4 separate regions of the Homo sapiens genome follow, and regions 2, 3 and 4 are each linked to region 1. The links are contacts of gene promoters, found by promoter capture Hi-C in human tissues and cell types (Jung and others, 2019). All regions are on one chromosome and are shown on one strand. Each heading gives the region's core, a stretch centred on a gene start or on the middle of the fragment in contact. The rest is flanking DNA. Distances are from core to core; before and after follow the strand shown.

Region 1 (4,390 bases), core at 1,125-3,624:
ATCACTTGAGGTCAGGAGTTCCAGACCAGCCTGGCCAACATGGTGAAACCTCGTCTCTACTAAAAGTACAACAATTAGCTGGGCGTGGTGGCACATACCTATAGTCCTAGTTACTTGGGAGGCTGAGGCAGGAGAATCGCTTGAACCTGGGAGGTGGAGGTTGCAATGAGCCGAGACTGCGCCAGTGCACTACAGTCTGGGTGACAGAGTAAGACTCCGTCTCAAAATAAATAAATAAAATAAAATAAAATGAAAAAAAGTACTAAATGCAAACTTCTTAAGATCACATGCAACTTCGATGTTAAATACTAAATATTCCTTAAATTTAGACAGTATTCAATTTGGTAAAGATCAGAAAGTTATATTTTGTCATTTATGATATCAAGTGGAATGTATTATCAGTGATTATGATGCTTCTCGCAATGAGAGTTATAACTTTCTGGAAAAATCCTTGCTCAAATCATCAAAGTTAAGATTTCTTACTACATAAAGGCTATGAAGAGCTGACGTGTAATTATATTGGCTCTGCAAATATTGGAACAGAAATATGAGTTTGCCATTAGTGTAAGAAAAGCTTCAGAATATGTATGCAAATTTGGCAAATTGAGTTGGTTTTCCCCACGGTACTTCGAATAAAAGAGACATTTTAACAAATCACAGGTTCATAGAAAATCTCTAGTTTCGTGGTCTATTTTCTAAAATAATAGGAAATGAACTTTTAATAAAAGTACATGAGGACTTTTGATGAACGGTTTATTTTTCACAGAAGTGAAGTGCAGGTGAAAAGGGGAAATTCCTAGAATATCTGAAGGATCTGACTAAATGAATTTCTACCTAAGCTATTGATTTACAGTAACTTAAAATGTGATAATTTATCTCCTACAATGGCCTTTCAAATTAAATATAAAAGTAACTCAGAGTAAAGTATGCAGAAAAAATTTTGGTATTGTAACTGAAAATGACCAACATTAATTTTTTTCTCTCACATTAATCAAGCACCTTACTGTTAGAAGGGAAACTGACAAGCCTCCTCAACCGAGTTTATACAAAATTCAACCCCAGAAAGTAAAGCCAATTCGTGCACCTTCATAAGAAAGAAATAAAGGACGAACCTACACATTACAATTTGTAAAGAAACTTCTGTAGAGGCACCATCGTTCTACAACCTTATGCACTTTAAAATCTGAGGTAACAAGGCATTTGAAGATAACCAAGGTTGGCCGGGCGCGGTGGCTCACACCTGTAATCCCCCCAGCACTTTGGGAGGCTGAGGTGGGCGGATCACGAGGTCAGGAGTTTGAGACCAGCCTGGCCAACATAGTGAAACCCAGTCTCTACTGAAAATACAAAAATGAGCGGGCACGGATGGCGCACGCCTGTAGTCCCAGTTACTCGGCAGGGGTTGGGGGCTGGTGGGGGTGGTAGTGCTGAGGCAGGAGAATCGCTTGAATCCGGGAGGCTGAGGTTGTGGTGAGTAGAGGTCGCGCCGTTGCACTCCAGCCTGGGCGACGGAGCGAGACTCCGTCTCAAAAAAAAAAAAAAAAAAGATAACCAAGGTTTATTGCTACTTCCGTGATATCACCATATCACCAACTGCGTAAGCAGTGCTATTTAGTTGAAAATACATGGACTAGACCGAATATTTCTGCAACAGTTTAATAAGAGACGATGATGCGACTACTGCAGCTGTCCCCAGGCAATTAAACTCTTCGGCGAATTTCTTTACTATTGCTTTTGAACAGGGAACTGTTTGCTATTTTAGGGCACTCGTGCGGTAAAGAACTTCACTGAAAAATGCAAATATGTTTTGCTAATGTGGGAGAAAGATGATGATCCTCTGAACCTGTGACTTGGAAGGGGGGATAAAAAAGAACTATTTCTTGAATTCTTGCCTTGCTCTTGCTGATTCGATGCACACAACCCCACGAACATTCAGATTCATGGCTTGACAAAGTGGGGATAACCGGGAGCTGCAGCCCCGTCTTTGAAGCTTTTGTAAAGACAAACGGTCTGCAATGTTAAGCCTTAAATTGGCTTTTGGCGGACTCCAGCCTTTTACCCTTCGTTTGGTAGATGTTTTCACCTCGCTGTCATTAAGCAGGGTCAGGAAATGGAAGGGCCGTGACCGGGTCGCCGCGGGCGCTCTGTGGGCGATGAGGGTCTCCTGAGCGAGCAAGACCAGTCTCTCCCCGACTCGCCACGCGCCACGCGCCGCGCGCCGCGCGCCGGTTCCTCGGCTTCCCACGCCGGGGGCGCATCCTCCCGGGAGCTGCTGCCCTTTTCCAACATGGCGCCGCGGGAGGCGGGTCCCGCTCGTCGGCTCCCGGGGTTCCGGCGCCGCGCGTTTTGGTTCCGGAGTAACAGTGTCGCCGCCGCCTTCCTCCTCCTCCTCTCGCCGCTACCGCCGTCGCCGCCGCCGCAGCCGCCGCCAGTCCGCGCGGCCTCGGGTGGCCGGAGCTCAGCCTGCGCGCGCCGCGCCCTGTGTCTCCGGGTGGGGCAGAAGACTCGCCCCTTGAACCTCCCGCGGGGACTCTCCGTGGTGTGGCGGCCCTGGGGCTCTTTCTTAATAGCCCCGGACTGAGTCCCCTCCAGTCGAGGACCCTCTCCTAGTCCACTGACGAGCGGTGGACACCTGCCGCTGTATCTCCCCCAAACCGAGTCCTTGCCCTGCTGCCTCCTCATACCCACACGGCGGCAGAGACCTTCACCATAGCGTTCGCTCAACTCCAGAACCTTCCGACCTCCGCTAGTTCCTGCGGGCCTTTGCCCGCTTCCCGGTGCACCCTCCCCGGGAGACACCTCAGACCCCCGACAGCCTGGGCAGGCTCGGTGCCTGCGGGTGCGTTCCTGATCACCCCTCCCCTCTTCCCTCCCCCTCATCCTCCATTCCCTTGTTTTCACCCTCTGTCCTCTGCCCGTCACTCCCCTTGTCACCTCTTGGAGCCCCCTCCTAACCAGCGGCCAGTGGGTTTCCCATACCCCAGGATGTGAGCCTCTTTAACCTGTAATGCTGTGGCTAGCCCTTGGCCCCTTTCCTGCCATGGAGAACCAGGTGCTGGTAATTCGCATCAAGATCCCAAATAGTGGCGCGGTGGACTGGACAGTGCACTCCGGGCCGCAGTTACTCTTCAGGGATGTGCTGGTGAGTGGTAATCTCAGTGTCCGGATGCCAGCAAGGGGGACTCAGGGACTTGAGTAGTCAGCACCTTGACCACTGGTGACCTGAGCCAGTGGCAATGGCTACTGCTGGCTTCCTGTGGAGGCAGTTTTATTGCTTCAGGCACAGCATTGATAAATTGCAACCACTAAAACCTGGCAAATGTCTAGGACCCTGGGGAGATAGATCAATCTGACTGAACCCCTGCCCTCAGAGAGCTCATGGCCCGGGCTGGGACACACATATAGACACAACCACGCAAATGCAAACTGCTGAATCTAGAAGAGAGGTTTTTTCCCCCCAAGTGTTTCGGGGAATGTCCTTGGACAGATTCCAGCCTTGTTTTTCTACTGAGTTCTCTGAACTTGGTGACCAGCTGAGAAAGGGAAAAAGGACAACTTTAACTTACCATGTTTGAGCACACTGTTTCATTAATTTATTTTGAGACAGGGCCTCACTCTGTCGCTCAGGCTGCAGTGCTGTGGCACGATCTCGGCTCACTGCAGCCTCTGCCTCCTGGGCTCAAGCGATTCTCCTACCTCAGCCTCCCAAGTAGCTGGCACATGCCATCACACCTGGATAATTTTTGTATCTTGTAGAGACGAGGTATTGCCATGTTGCCCAGGCTGGTCTTGAACTCCTGCGATTTGCTTGCCTCGGCCTTCCCAAAGTGCTGAGATTACAGGTGTGAGTTACTGTGCCCAGCCTGAGCAAACTTAAAGCATCATTGAATGTAAGACATTTTACTTAGAAAAAAATGCTAACCATGACAGTATGACACATCATCCGTTATTAAAATGAGTCCAGTTTCAGAGACGGTAAAAGTAAGGGAAAATGTGCATCTTAGAATTGGTGATATTTTACATTCAGATTTTTCAGAATATATTTCAAATAAAATGATGGAATTTTAGAGCAGAGTGTAACACTGTAGGTGGCCTGTTCAGCTGATGTTTCTTTTTTGCAGATAGTTACTGAGGAGCAGTGAGGTGAAATGGCTTTTCCAAAGCTGTGAGCTCCTGAGTGGGAGAGTCAGTACCAGAACTAAAATTTTGTTTCATTGACTTAGTAGGTTTCTTTCCCTACATGTTGCAGCCGCTTCTAATCTTTCTGGTATTCATTTGAGATAGACAGGGTGCCTTGTGCCCATTCTACATGCAGAATAACTGAGGCATGGAAGACAGAAGCGGACATTCCGAAAAGCACATCACTACCTGCAAGTTAAGAGTGGGCAAG
Region 2 (4,390 bases), core at 1,128-3,627, 690 kb after region 1:
GCTGGCCTGTCCGGGCTGCGCGCGTGACCACCAGCGGGCTGGGATGTGTTAGGGTCCCTTGCCTGCCTGGGTACGGGAATCTCTGTCTAGGGTGACTGAGGCCTGGGTGTTGGGCTGGGGCGGGGTAGCGACCTGGAGATAGACTAAGCTGATTTAAATGCTCCCCGGGGCAGAGGGTTCTGTGGGATTTCCCTTGTTCTTACGGGTGGAGGAGAGGAGGCAGGACTGGAGACCTGCACGTGTAGCACCCGCGTGGTGCAGCACGTGGGTTGCAGATGTTCTAGTGAGGGGCTGGCGGTGACAGTGGGAAGGAGCGAGTTGGTGACATCTAGAGTCGTGTGAGAGGTATGGTGACTGGGACTCTGGATGTGGGGGGTGAGGGGAGAAGAGTTCAGGCAGTGGCCGGATTCTGCCCCTGGGTGGATAGTGGAGGCACCCCCCGGGAAGTGGGCTAGAGCAGATTTCGTGTAAATAAAGATTCATCTTTGAACGCATTAAGCTTGAGGTGGGTCAGGAAGGCTGTTGGACCGGTGGTCTGAAGCTGAGGCGAGACCTGGGAACCCAGTGGACAGGCTCGTGAGTCACCGGAGCATACAAGACAGACAGAACCTAAGGGGACAGCATCCTCAAGTGAAAAACAGAACCAAAGGTCAAACCTGAGAACAGCCTGCAGGGCAGATTGCCAGGACTTCATTAGTGGTACCACTTTGAACTAGCTGTGATGCGGGCAAATGGCTCAACCCCTCACAGCTTCAGTTTACTCATCTGTAACAAGAAGATGCCTATTGCATCTACTACATTGGAGTTGTGATGACTATATGAAACTCTTAGCAGAGAGCCCAGCACTGGTGGACTAAGTTATTTACAATAGCCCGTCTCGAGACCTGAGGTTTCCCTCCACAGAAAGGTTACCTTCCACACCACTGTCAATGTCACAAACTCTCTCCTCCCCACGGTCACTGTCAGCAGCCCAGGCCGCTAACTAGAACAACTGCAACCAACTCCCATTCTCCCCACCACCCCCGTGCTACACCAGGCGCACACGACATGTGCAGGTCTCCAGTCCTGTCTCCTCTCACCCAGCCCTCAAGCCGCTGCAGAAGGGATGTGCCTCTTGGAAGGGATGTGCCTCAGATGCAAATGCAATGTGCCATTCCCCTGCCCAGTATCCTTGGTCTGCTTCCCAGACCATGAGGGGTCTGAGCTATGCCTATTTCCATTCTATTTTCTTTCCTGTCTTTCTTCTTGGGAGATGTTTATTGGATTTATTTCTTTCCCCTTTGGTCAGAACCTGCATGTCCTTTCTTGGCTGTGGGAGGCTAGGACTGCCTGCCTGGGAGTCATTTTCCATCAGCCCCATCCTGGGCTCTAGCAGCCCACAGGCCACACCTCAATCCCCCCCCTCCGCCCCTGGTCCCCTGAAGAACACATTTGCTTTAAAGCTTTCCTTGTTTCATTTGATCCACACACACCAGGTCGTAAGGAGAACAGGTGATTGTCTCTGTTTTGTAGCAGAGAAAAACCTAGGCCCTGAGCTGAAGTACTGTGCCCAAGGGTCAGCCAAGGACAGCACTCAGACGGGGCCCCAGATTTAATTCTGGTGAATCTGATCTACACATCGATCTCGGTATACACCAGAGAAGAAGGATTGAGGCTTCCCGCTCTGACCCCAATTTCTTATCCTCTGCAGGCTTTGCAAGCCTGCTGGGCTCCAGAGGGAGGGGCATGCAGTGCCCATGATGTCATCATCGATTTAATAACACTCAGAGGTGGGCTTCCAGCCATCAGAGGATGAGGCCGTGTGGAGGGAGCCTCTCTAGCTCATTTAATCCTCCAATCTCTTAAATACAAACACATCTGCCTTTTTTCTGGAGTCCGCTGCTACCCCTTGAGGGGAGGGGAGTCCAACCTGGCAGGGGGCTGGGCCTTTCTGAATGAACAAGATGAGAATTCTCCCTGTCCGGTGGGATTATCAGCCCCCTCTCTTTCCCATCCCACCAGGACACTTTAAAAACACCATCTTCATTAGCTCTTTAAATTGCATGGAAATTTGGGGGAGGAGGATAGAGTAAAGCTGAGGGGTACACATTTGCAGGATCTTGTTTGTGATTATCTGAGAACATGGGCCCTGCACATCAGAAGGGAGTCTAGTCTCAGCTCTCTGAGCTGCAATTTCAGTGGCCAGCATCAAGAAATCTTTCAGCTGAGAAGGTCCTTTGGTATTATGCATCTTGGTGGTTTTGACTTTTCTTTTAGTAGAGGTTCCCACTACTTTTCAATTATAGCTGTATCCGATATTTTTTTTTTTTTTTGAGACGGAGTCTTGCTCTGTCGCCCAGGCTGGAGTGCAATGGCACGATCTCGGCTTGCTGCAACCTCTGCCTCCCTGGTTCAAGTGATTCTCCTGCCTCACCCTCCCAAGTAGCTGGGACTACAGGCATGCACCACCACGCCTGGCTAATTTTTTATATTTTTAGTAGAGACGGGGTTTCACCATGTTAGCCAGGCTGGTCTTGATCTACTGACCTTGTGATCTGCCCGCCTTAGTCTCTCAAAGTGCTGGGATTGCAGGCGTGAGCCACTGCACCAGGCCTGTATCAGATACTTTTAAATGTATCGCCTAAGATCCGTTAGACACACCAGTCTTCCAGCTCCTTGCCACTTGTTTTGTCCAGCTGCTGTGACAACTGACTTCACCCAGGCAGAAGTCAACTGCACCTCCTCTCCCCTTGGCCCCACACCCTTGGCCTCAGAAGTGCAGGAGTGTTGGACACTCCATGGAGTGAACTTTGACCAGCAAGAGACAGGGATTAGCAAATAAATTTTTCTCTCTTCCTCTTTCTGGACAGACTGGCCTGAGTTCCGAGTTCACACAGCCACTTTAAAGAAGGTCCTGGGCCATGCGCAGTGGCTCACACCTGTAATCCCAGCACGTTGGGAGGCCAAGGTGGGTGGACCACGTGAGGTCAGGAGTTCAAGACCAGCCTGACCAACATGGTGAAACCCTGTCTCTACTAAAAATACAAAAACGAACTGGGTGTCGTGGCATGTGCCTGTAATCCCAGCTACTTGGGAGGCTGAGGCAGGAGAAATTGCATGAACCCAGGAGGCAGAGGTTGCAGTGAGCCGAGATCACGCCACTGCACTCTAGTCTGGGCGACAGAGCAAGGCTCAGTCTCAAAATAAATAAATAAATAATAAAGAAGGTCCTGTAAGGTCTAGCATCCTTCCAGACGGAGTGGTGGCCAGCTCCGCAGTGCACTCTCTTGTGTGCCCTCCCTTCTCCTCTGTCTCACTCCCCCTTGTCCTCACTTCCCCTTCCCAGCCACCACACTCCCCAATACAGTGTTAGCATACATGCTGCCCTGCTCTGCTTCTTTGGAAACCTGGGCTAAGACAAAGATCTTTCCAGCATGCTCAATGTATGAAACACCTACGGGGGGGTGGGGGGGGTGGTGCCCTGAGTGAAGAGAAGCAGGGTCCCAGGTGCCATCTCTTCTCCCCTTATGGTTACAAGGCCGTGGCCAAGTCACCTCCAAAGGGCTCCCTGGAAAGCCTTTGATCTTGCCTAATTTCATCATTCTGCAGCTGCGGAAAATGAAGCCTAAAGCCACACAGCGAGTTAGAAGCCAAGCCAGGCCAGAATCCAGTCTCCACTCCTAATCCAGTACCCTTTCTATCCAGTCTCTTAAGAGCTTTTGAAAATTTCTCTTTCTTCAAAACATCTTCCCACACTGCCCTGCCACCAGAAGGCTTTGAAGGCCCCTGCTAGACTGCAGCTACCATCTGAGAGACATGACACACAGAATCCTGGATCCAGAGGCTGGGACTCCAGAAGGCAGACAGACGAAGTGGGACCAGGAAAACTCAGTTACTTTGGAGAGAGGCAGCCAGGAGGGGCCTGACTAGGGGATCTCTAAGTGTGGGCAACAAGACTGTGCACAGTGAGAAGGCTGCACAAGGACAGACAGCAAGGGACTGGGGCACTGGGGGAAGATGGAGACTGTCTTTCTGTGTCAACTGGTATTGCCTGCAGGACACTCCCCATCTGGCTGAAGAAGCTGGGAGGGTGACCAGAAGTCACACTGTGGGGAGAGAGAAGGTCCCCAGGTTGTGTTTAATTCAGATTCTTGTGGTTGTGATTACTAGAAGCAACGGGGGACAGGTTGATGACAAAAGGGGATTTCTATTACAAGGATTTAGGGGTGTCTTAGGGAACCTAAGCATAAGGATGCAGTTGGGCCTCAGGAACTGAGAATGGTGCTGGGACTTTGGGAGCCCAGGAAGGCACCACCCACAACACTGTTTCCATGTCATCCTTCTCTCTTTCTCCCTGCAGACTGGCTTTCCTGGCTTTCCAGGAAATACAGCAGCCGACGGCCTCAGTCAG
Region 3 (4,390 bases), core at 836-3,335, 660 kb after region 1:
GCCCAAGTTTTGCCAACTCTTATATCCATTGCCAACCTATAGTTTCGATTCAACCATGATTTGACAAATGAAGCTGCGCGCCAATGAGTGCGATTCTTTTTCCAATGAATGAATGGTCATTAAACCTGATGTGATCTACTGTTAAACTATTTCTCACCCTTTTACCAAACACATTCATTAAATTGAAACTTCTTTCAAATCTCCATCTCCACTGATCACAATAGGGCTGTCTTTTTAACTTTTTGTACAGATAGATGTAGGGATTGAAACACTGTTTGATCCTACATTATTTAATAATGGCTGGCTTTAACATCCTGCTTGCAAAATTCCTAAAACTATGGCTCTTGCTAGCTGTAGTGAGCCAGCCCCAGCCCACATGTGGGTGACACCTGGCTATGCCTGGCCCAGCGTCCAGCATGTAACTGACATTATTCCCCTCTGTCCGTGGCTCGCAGCAGCCTGGTAAGGTGGCATATCCTACTTCATAGGTGAGAAAACCGAGGCTCAAGGGTGATTAGGCTTCAGGTCTGCTGCCTCCAAAGCCCCTGTTCTTCCCACTTCGCTAGGCCACCCCATCCAGTCTTTCACACACTCATTAAACACTGGTGGCCACTTTCTTGGTGTCAGATACTGGGATACAAAGACAATTTACCTTCTTCCCTTCTGGGAGCTTTGGCTATCCCAGGAGGGAGGGTCAGTGAGCCTCAAAACCAGGCATGGGTGGGAGGATGCTGAGGCTGAAGGCTGGACTCCAGCCCTCAGTCCACCATTCATTATCACCGTTAGACCTGGACAAGAGGGCACTGCCCCGGGCCCTGTGTTTTAAAAGTCCCTGCTCCTGCCCTGGCCCTCCTCTTGGGATAAAGAGTTCCAGGGTTCTACGTGGAGGTGCCCACCTGGAGCTCACAATTCCTGCCCCTCTGGACCAAGCTCAGAATACCCAGAACTCTGGAACTCCTGCCCAGGTAACCCTAACCCCACTTGGCTGGGCTCTCAGGACCCTACCCTGGATCACAAGGGCCCAAGGTGCCTGTAATTTTATCTCCAGTGGTCAGCGAAGGACTCACTGAGAAGGCGATGTTTCAGCAAAGACCTGGAGGAATGGGATGCCTCGGGGGACTCTCAGGCCCATTGACGTCCACTGTTGGGACAGGTTTCAGGGTCACAACCTCAAGCAGCAGCTGGCTGTGCCTCCTGGGCCTCTCCTGCCAGGTGCAGGGGGGCTGCAGCCATGAGGCTCCCCTGGCTCAGGTCTGGGCCCCCAAGTTCTTTGTAACGCAACTCTTTGCTCTTGGCCTTCTGGAAATAGAACCCTGCACGGTGTGAAACTGAAGCCTGGTCGAGGGCTGGCAGAGTAGGGGACCCAGGGAATAAAGTGCTCACGCCCAAACCAGGCTTGATGCCAGGGCAAAGGGGGCTCAGTGGACCCTCCATTTTACAGATAGGGAGACTGAGGCGCAGAGAGTAGACGCATCCTGCCAGAGAGTGCAGACCTGGCCTCTGTTCTGTCTCAATTACAAAGCCCCTCCTCTTTCCCTGCTGCCAGCCATACCTTTAATGGTCTCTCTCTCCATCCCCAGTCCCCTCAGTCCCCAAATCCAACTGGTCAGGTTCTGGAGGGAAACCTAGTAAGTTCTGTCTTAGCGCCCTGGCTTGTAAGTCACACTGACAAGTATAAAGCCACATGTCTATTTTGGAGGCTTACCCCCAACCCCCACCCCGCCAACAGCAGCCTCCCCGCAGCTCTTGGCCCTGGGTGGGCCCAGCTCTCCCACAGCCACCTTCCTTCCCACCAAGAAAACATGAGCAGAGCAAATTGCCTAATGAGACCCATATTTTGCTGAGTTGCTAATCAAAGAACAAACCCAACCTACCATTAATTTGGTCTTGGGAAAGAAACTTGGCCTGCAGCAGAGAAAGGAAAACAGTCAGGGGAGGGCTCCACCTGAGGTTCACGCCCCCAGCCCTGGCCAGGCCGACACAGACCCTCACACTCACCATTCTGGGGCCTCGGCTGCTACCCGTGGGCTTGCTGCTCCCAGAACCGCGTTCAGTTCCCTTTCCTCCAGCCTCAAGTCTAAAGTCTGCCAAGCTGGGTGGAGGCCCGGGTAATAAATGCTCGGCTGCCATGGAGACTGGGCCCGACGCCACCAGGGTCAGATTCCAGCTTCCTGAGCACAGCTCATGACCCGCCACCTGGGCAGGTTGGATTTTTGAGGAAATGGGGCTGCAGAAGGCTCTCCCTGGGCTCAGAGTCTCTGCCTCCAGAAGCCGAAGCAAAGGGACAAATGCCAGTGTTTCTTCCCGGGAGCCCTGGACTCCAGGAAGGGGTCTTCTCTCTCTCTCCTGGGACTCGGCGGGGATGCCATCAGGCCCCTACTAGAGTTGGACACTTTACACCCCGGGTCGTATTGAAGGCTCCTCACACACCATCTTGTAGGAGGAAGGGAACCCTTCCAAGACGGCCTAACTCAGAGATGGGCACCGGGGCTCGCAGGCTTGGGGCTCGGTATTGCAGGGATACAAGCTTCGGTGCTCTCAGGCTGGGATTCAGTCCTCCCCGTCTGCTGACTTGCTGAGTGACTGGCGAATCATTCTACCTCAGTCTGTGCCTCAGTTTCCTCACCAGCTGAATTACAGGGCAGCTGGCAAAATCAAGTGGCCAGCGCACAGCCGGTTCCCATCCTGTGCCAGTTCAGTTCCCACCTTCTGAGGACTTTAAGGGTGGTGGAGGGGCCTGAGCCGGGTCTCCAGCCCCACCACAGGCTCCTCGGGGGCTTGGAGTGAGGCCTCTTAGTGCCGGTTACCCTGGCCAGGAAGGCTCCCCTTTTCTTCCTTCCCTTCCTCTCTCCACCCTCAGCCCCACCCCTTCCGCAGAAGCTGCTGACGCTCCCAAGTCTTCAGGAGTTCGTGCTGCTCCCCTCCCCCACATAGGAGGAAATGGGGGCAGGGTGTGAGGCCTCCCCAGCTTCTTCCCCTTGAGATCCCATTTCCCTGTTTGGGGCGTGAGGCTTTTGTCCACAGCTGAGTCTATGAGGCTCTACAAGTAGGTGTGGCTGCACAGGTGTGCCCTACACAAAGGCCCCCAGCCCAGGTGCGAGTGGTTGCTGGCCAGGGGCTGCACTGCCAATAGGAAGGGGGGCATTGTGCCACTTTGCACACAGGCGCATAGACGGGAGGCGCTGCCTGTGCCCCACTCTCCCCTCCCCGCTCCTTTCCTGACCGCCTCTGTGTGGAAAGTGTGCTTTTCTCCCAAATCACATCCCCAGAATCGCTTTACACCTGTTTCTAGACCCAGAGAATTTTAGCTGGGGACTCCGACTCCTCCCTGTCAGAGTTTGAGGCTCCCCCTCCCAAACCCCATGGCAGGGATAAGAGGAGGGAAGGCTGCCTCTGTGCAGAGGATGGAGAGAAGGACATCAAGGAAAGTCACTTGGGACTCTGGAAGCCTGAAGGCGGCCAGGCCAACATGCTCCCTCTGAATCCCCTTGCCTGTGGGAAGGGGCTCCAGAAGAGATGAGGTGCCTCCTTGGAGTTAGGCCAGTGTGTGCTGGGGTGCCCCGGCCAACTCCCTCCTTATGTGTGTAGGTGTCTCCGGGGGTGACGCACAGATGGAAAACACCAGCGTGGGGCAATGGCTGCGTGAGGGTTCACGATACAGCAACTCACCATGCTGTAGGGCGCACCGTGTGTGCTACACCTCAGCACGAAAGGGAGAAAAGACAAAAAACACCTCTAACACCACTTGGGGCTGTGACTGTATTTACTTCATTCTTGAATCCCGCGTCCCCGTGGCTGGGGGCTGACACATCCCTGGGCACCACTGTGACTTCCTGTGGGTCCCTTCCCTTCTGTCCCTGACTCTGTAGACCCCCCACAGGAAGGGTCCTAGGTAGGGGGAGGTTCCTCCTCCCTTGAAACCCTGGGCCACTCTGTCAAGGCAAAGCCTCTGGGCCCAGCACCTTGTAAAGGCTTTGATGAGAGGAGCTCTGGCTTTTGCTCAGGGCCTTTGGCACCCCACCCTCCAGCCCCCAGGAATGCAGGCGCTCAAAGCCTGTGGCTAGGCTGCCCGAAGCGCGTGCCGCAGTTCTTCTGGAGTGGGAGCAGGGGGACAGAGCTTTGGGTAGAGGAGGGTCACCTGCAAAGCTGGAATGCCAGGGGAGTGGGCGGTGCCTCCAGCTCCTGGGGGCCAGGGTGTCTCCATACCTCATGGGCCTGAGCCTGGGCAGGGGTCTGGAGTGCACATAGCCCCCAGGCAGGGAGAGGGCAGTGACAGGACAGAGCCACTCATCTGTCCCAAAGCTGCACCCAAGGGGTGTCAGCAACCCCAACCTACTGACCTACTTTGGGACCACAGGCCCATCTAGTGCAAATGAGGCCCAGAAAGGAG
Region 4 (4,390 bases), core at 995-3,494, 580 kb after region 1:
TAACTCTTTGTTGTGTTATTTTAGTGGATGCTTTAGGTTTTGTAGTATACGTCTTTAATTCGTCACGACCCTACTTCAGGTGACATTTTACCACTTTACAACAGTTCATTTTTATTTTCCCCCTCCTGGTCTTTGTGCTATTCTTGTCATACATTTTACGTCCATGTAAGTTTGTTGTTGTTGTTGTTTGAAACAGAGTCTTACTGTGTTGCCCAGACTGGAGTGCAGTGGCGTGATCTCAGCTCACTGCAACCTCCACCTCCCGAATTCAAGTGATTCTCCTGCCTCAGACTCCCAAGTAGCTGGGATTACAGGCACCCGCCACCACGCCTGGCTAATTTTTGTATTTTTAGTAGAGACAACTTTTCACCATGTTGACCAGGCTGGTCTTGAACTCCTGACTCGGCCTCGCAAAGTGCTGGGATTACAGGCATGAGCCACCGGGCCTGACCTACTTCTATAAAAGTTTTAAACTGCAGTATGTTGTTGTTATTTTTGCTTTAAACAATCAGTTCTCTTTTGTGGATACTTAAATAAACAATTCTTTATATTTATCGATGTTGTTTCCATTTCTGATATTGTTCATTCTTTTGTGTATATCCAGATTCTAATCTGGTGTTGTTTTCCTATTCCTTGAAGGACTTTCTTTACCATTTCTTTAAAATGTAAGGACTGTGGTGAATTCTTTTACCTTTTGTATGTCTCAGAGTTTTTATTTTACCTTTGTTTTTGTAAGATGTTTTTGCTGAGTAAAGTGTTAACAGTTGACATGTTTTTTTGTTTTTTTTTTTTCTTTTGGCACTTCAAAAATTTTACTCCACTTCTTACTCTGTTTTCTGCTTGCATTATTTTTGACAAGAAATCTGCTGTTATCTGTATGCTGTTCTATATATTTCCTTTGTCTTTTTTCTTCTGGCTGCTTTGAAGATTTTGTTTTCACTGGGTCTTAAGCAATTTGGTTATGATTTGCTTTGGTGTTGCTTTATTCTTGTTTTTTTGTGCATAGGGTTTATTGATTGCCCTGCCTCAGCACTCCTATTTCTTTTAAATTCTCTCTTCTCTTGCTTTTTCTTCTGTATTTCTGGCCACCTCTTATCTTACTTAACCTTTAAATATTGGTGGTCCTAGGGATTCTGTTGTGTTTTGATTCCACAGGGTATTCTCAGGTCATCTCATTCACTCCCATAACTTAATCTGCTCTCTGTATGAGAGATTTCCTAATTGTTTATCTCTACCCAGACCTCTCTCTAAGCTTCAGGTTAGTATTTCTTTACAGCCATCTCTACTTAAATCCAAAGAAGCCCTATTGAACGTATTTGGAATGAATAGACCTGGAGGACAGCTCACTAAAAAACTTCAAGAGGCTGGGCATGGTGGCTCACACCTGTAATCCCAGCACTTTGGGAGGCCAAGGCGGGCAGATTGCTTGAGTCCAAGTGTTTGAGACCAGCCTGGGTGATATGGCGAAACTCTGTCTCTACAAAAAATACAAAAAATTAGCCAGATGTGGTGGCACACACCTGTAGTCCCAGCTACTTAGGAGGCTGAGGCAGGAGGATCACTTGAGCCTGGAAGATGGAGGTTGCAGTGAGCCAAGATCGAGCCACTGCACTCCTGCCTGGGTAACAGAGCAAGACCCTGTCTCAAAACAAACACCAAATAAACTTTAAGGGCAAAGGATAATCTCAGAGTACTTGGGCAAGTTGCTAGAAAACAGTATTCTCAGGGGAAGCATCAAAGGGGAAAATGGCCAAGTTGATATGGTAGTTGACTTCATTGTAGTTCCACCAGAAAGACAAAAAATAAACAAACAAAACCCTTATATCTGACAGTCGCAGGTAACATAGCGTTGAATACTGTGGTGAACAAGAAATTGAAACTATAGTTCTCAAGGGAGTTAGGCCCTAGAAGAATCACTTGTGAGCCAGAAGGGAGGAATAAGGACAAGGGAGTCCTAGGTGGCAACTATTGGATGGTTTAGAACTCTGCCAAGCTAAAAGGATAATGTGAGATTTACCTGAACTCATGAAGTGAAATGCAATCCTAGAGGCTAGTAAGTTGCTGCTAGGAAATAACAATGAAAAAAATCCTTTCACAGTGGTTCTAAAACACTTTATAAATCCTATTTCTTTTAATTATTTAATCATTTTATTTTGGTTGGTTTTATAGGAAGAAAATGAAATGCTATTAGCTTAATTTGATTGCCACACCAAGATGAGTAGACTCTCTTCATAAAGTGGGGAACAAATGAAAATCTTTGAAACAGAAGTGATATGATCAGCACTGTGCTTATTATATATACCCAAAATACATTTTTGGAAGAGTAATAGTCACTATTTTTTCAAAACTTAGCAATGCAGTATCTGCAGTGATTCCCTTTCATTTAGTTTCTCATCCAACTAAATAAGCCAACTAGAGGAACCCTAAGAAAATAGAATTTTATTTTCTTTCTTGGGAAGTATCTGCAAGAATTGAGAAGCTTGGAAACATTTCTTGTAAGGTAAAAGCTGTTTTTTTTTTTTTAAGCCTAAATCTCAGAGTGTTATACATACAAAATTCTTTTTATTTTTTTCTTTTTCTTTTTGAGAGAGAAGGTCTCATTCTGTCTCCCAGGCTGGAATGCAGTGGTACAAGCGTAGCTCACTGCAACCTCAAACTCCTAGGCTAAAGTGGTCCTCCTGCCTTATCCTCCCAAGTAGCTAGGACCTACTGGTGTGAGCCACCATGCCTGGCACATTTTTAAAACTTTTTGTAGAGAGTGTCTTGTAGTGTTACTCAGGCTGGTCTCAAACTCCTGGCGTCAAGCAGTCCTCCTGCCTTGGCCACCCAGAGTGCTGGGATTACAGGTGTGAGCCACCACACCTGTCCCAAAATTCTTATATGCAATTCTACATACCCTCTTACACACAGAGACACACAAAGTTATGAGTTTACTGTTCTGGGGCATTTTTTAAATGTTAAAATTGCAACTACTACTTAGTCTCATTTTCTTGTCTATAAGTCTTGGCATATGTCATGTATCTATTTTAGAAAAGTAATTTTAAAGTTAGTAGATTAAGAAACAACATGGTTGTACTAAAAAGTGCCTTATATATAAAAAAATCTTTCCATGGAATACCATGGAGACTATTTTTCCTTATGTTAAATAACATGGAGGAGTCTGCACTATAGGAAACAATTTGCTTAGAAACTAATTTAAAATTACTCAGAGCCACATCTAGAAATGTAAGTGAACTCACAGGAGTAGTACCTAATTAAGTATATTCTGTGATATTATAGAAACCTTATTTATAAAAGGAAACTTGTATAATTTCTGTCTTCAGGGCATTTATTGATAAAATAGATGTACCTTCACTACTGCTATGCTTCATTGTAAATGATAATGTTGATCTGTATTTGTACCATGTCCAAACATAATTATAGGCGGAAAACACAGGCAACAAAGATGTGGACATAATATAAACCTAAATATAGGTATATGTATACATATGTGTGAATATACACACACACACACGTATACATATATGTACACATACGTGTGTACATATGTATACACATGCACAAAAAGATCTGAGAAAGTATATGCTAGTAATACCTTTATCTCTCTGTGTCTGTATTGTCTGAATTTTTATAATTGTGTAATCTTTATTGATAATGATGGTGGGAGGTTATTTTTATTTTGAAATGAAAAAATAACATGGGTATTCCAGAGAATTTGAATCAGGGTATTACTCTTGCATTCTTCAACTACTGATGGCTATAACTATGTAAAGAAGTAAAACATTTCCTGTAAAGACAGTCAGAAGTTAGGAAGATCTCATCTTTATCCTGTGGACATACAGATATTTTTTCTTTGGCCCATTTACCACAGTCGTGACTTCCACTATTTCTTGGGTTGTGGTTTTTTTTGTTGTTGTTTTTTGTTTTTTTTTTTTCATTCAAAGTTATAAATGAACAGCCAGGTGTGGTGGTTCACTCCTGTAATCCCAGCACTTTGGGAGGCCGAGGCTGGCGGATCACTTAAGGTCAGGAGCTTGAGACCAGTCTGGCCAACATGGTGAAACCCCATCTCTACTAAAAATACAAAATTAGCCGGGTGTGGTGGTGCATGCCTGTAATCCCAGCTACTTGGGAGGCTGAGGCATGAGAATCTCTTGAACCGGGAGGCAGATGTTGTTGTGAGCTGAGGTTGCACCACTGCACTCCGGCCTGAGCAACAGAGAGAGACTCTGGCTCAAACAAACAAACAAACAAATAAACAAAACCCAAAAGTTATAAATGAATATAGTTTAAAATGTCAAATAGGCTCATTTTAAAAATCCCATGTTCTCATATTCTATCATTTCTGTCTTTCTAGGGGCAAGTATTTTGATCTCTTTTGGCTTTTAAA

What was found. Contacts are between HindIII fragments. The study calls those that stand out against the background at their distance.
Region 2: a contact is called between a fragment that was not itself captured here and the fragment with the promoter of MAP2K5 in region 1, in 1 of the 25 tissues and cell types used here (dorsolateral prefrontal cortex).
Region 3: the fragment with the promoter of CALML4 here is called in contact with the fragment with the promoter of MAP2K5 in region 1 in 2 of the 25 tissues and cell types used here (adrenal gland and dorsolateral prefrontal cortex).
Region 4: a fragment that was not itself captured here is called in contact with the fragment with the promoter of MAP2K5 in region 1 in 1 of the 25 tissues and cell types used here (lymphoblastoid cells).

What each region holds. Positions count from the first base shown.
Region 1 is chr15:67,540,329-67,544,718 of GRCh38, forward strand. It overlaps MAP2K5 (mitogen-activated protein kinase kinase 5), which reads left to right and starts at 2,375. Exons shown (of 22, transcript NM_145160.3): 1 at 2,375-3,142. The coding sequence starts at 3,008. MAP2K5-DT (MAP2K5 divergent transcript) reads right to left here and starts at 2,302. Exons shown (of 1, transcript NR_186334.1): 1 at 740-2,302. RefSeq lists enhancers at 1,315-1,815, 1,468-1,517 and a silencer at 2,391-2,510. The HindIII fragment of the contact is 7,088 bases long and covers 1,283-4,390 here.
Region 2 is chr15:68,229,864-68,234,253 of GRCh38, forward strand. It overlaps a transcript of CLN6 not described here. Among named protein-coding and RNA genes, the nearest start is that of CLN6, 2.3 kb to the left of the region's middle. RefSeq lists an enhancer at 560-609. The HindIII fragment of the contact is 2,814 bases long and covers 971-3,784 here.
Region 3 is chr15:68,203,247-68,207,636 of GRCh38, forward strand. It overlaps CALML4 (calmodulin like 4), which reads right to left and starts at 2,086. Exons shown (of 5, transcript NM_033429.3): 1 at 1,999-2,086; 2 at 1,875-1,905. The coding sequence starts at 2,001. It overlaps CLN6 (CLN6 transmembrane ER protein), which reads right to left. Exons shown (of 7, transcript NM_017882.3): 7 at 3,746-4,390. RefSeq lists an enhancer at 2,785-3,079. The HindIII fragment of the contact is 22,474 bases long and covers 1-4,390 here.
Region 4 is chr15:68,120,484-68,124,873 of GRCh38, forward strand. All of the region lies in intron 2 of PIAS1 (protein inhibitor of activated STAT 1), which reads left to right. Among named protein-coding and RNA genes, the nearest start is that of PIAS1, 68 kb to the left of the region's middle. The HindIII fragment of the contact is 4,758 bases long and covers 1-4,390 here.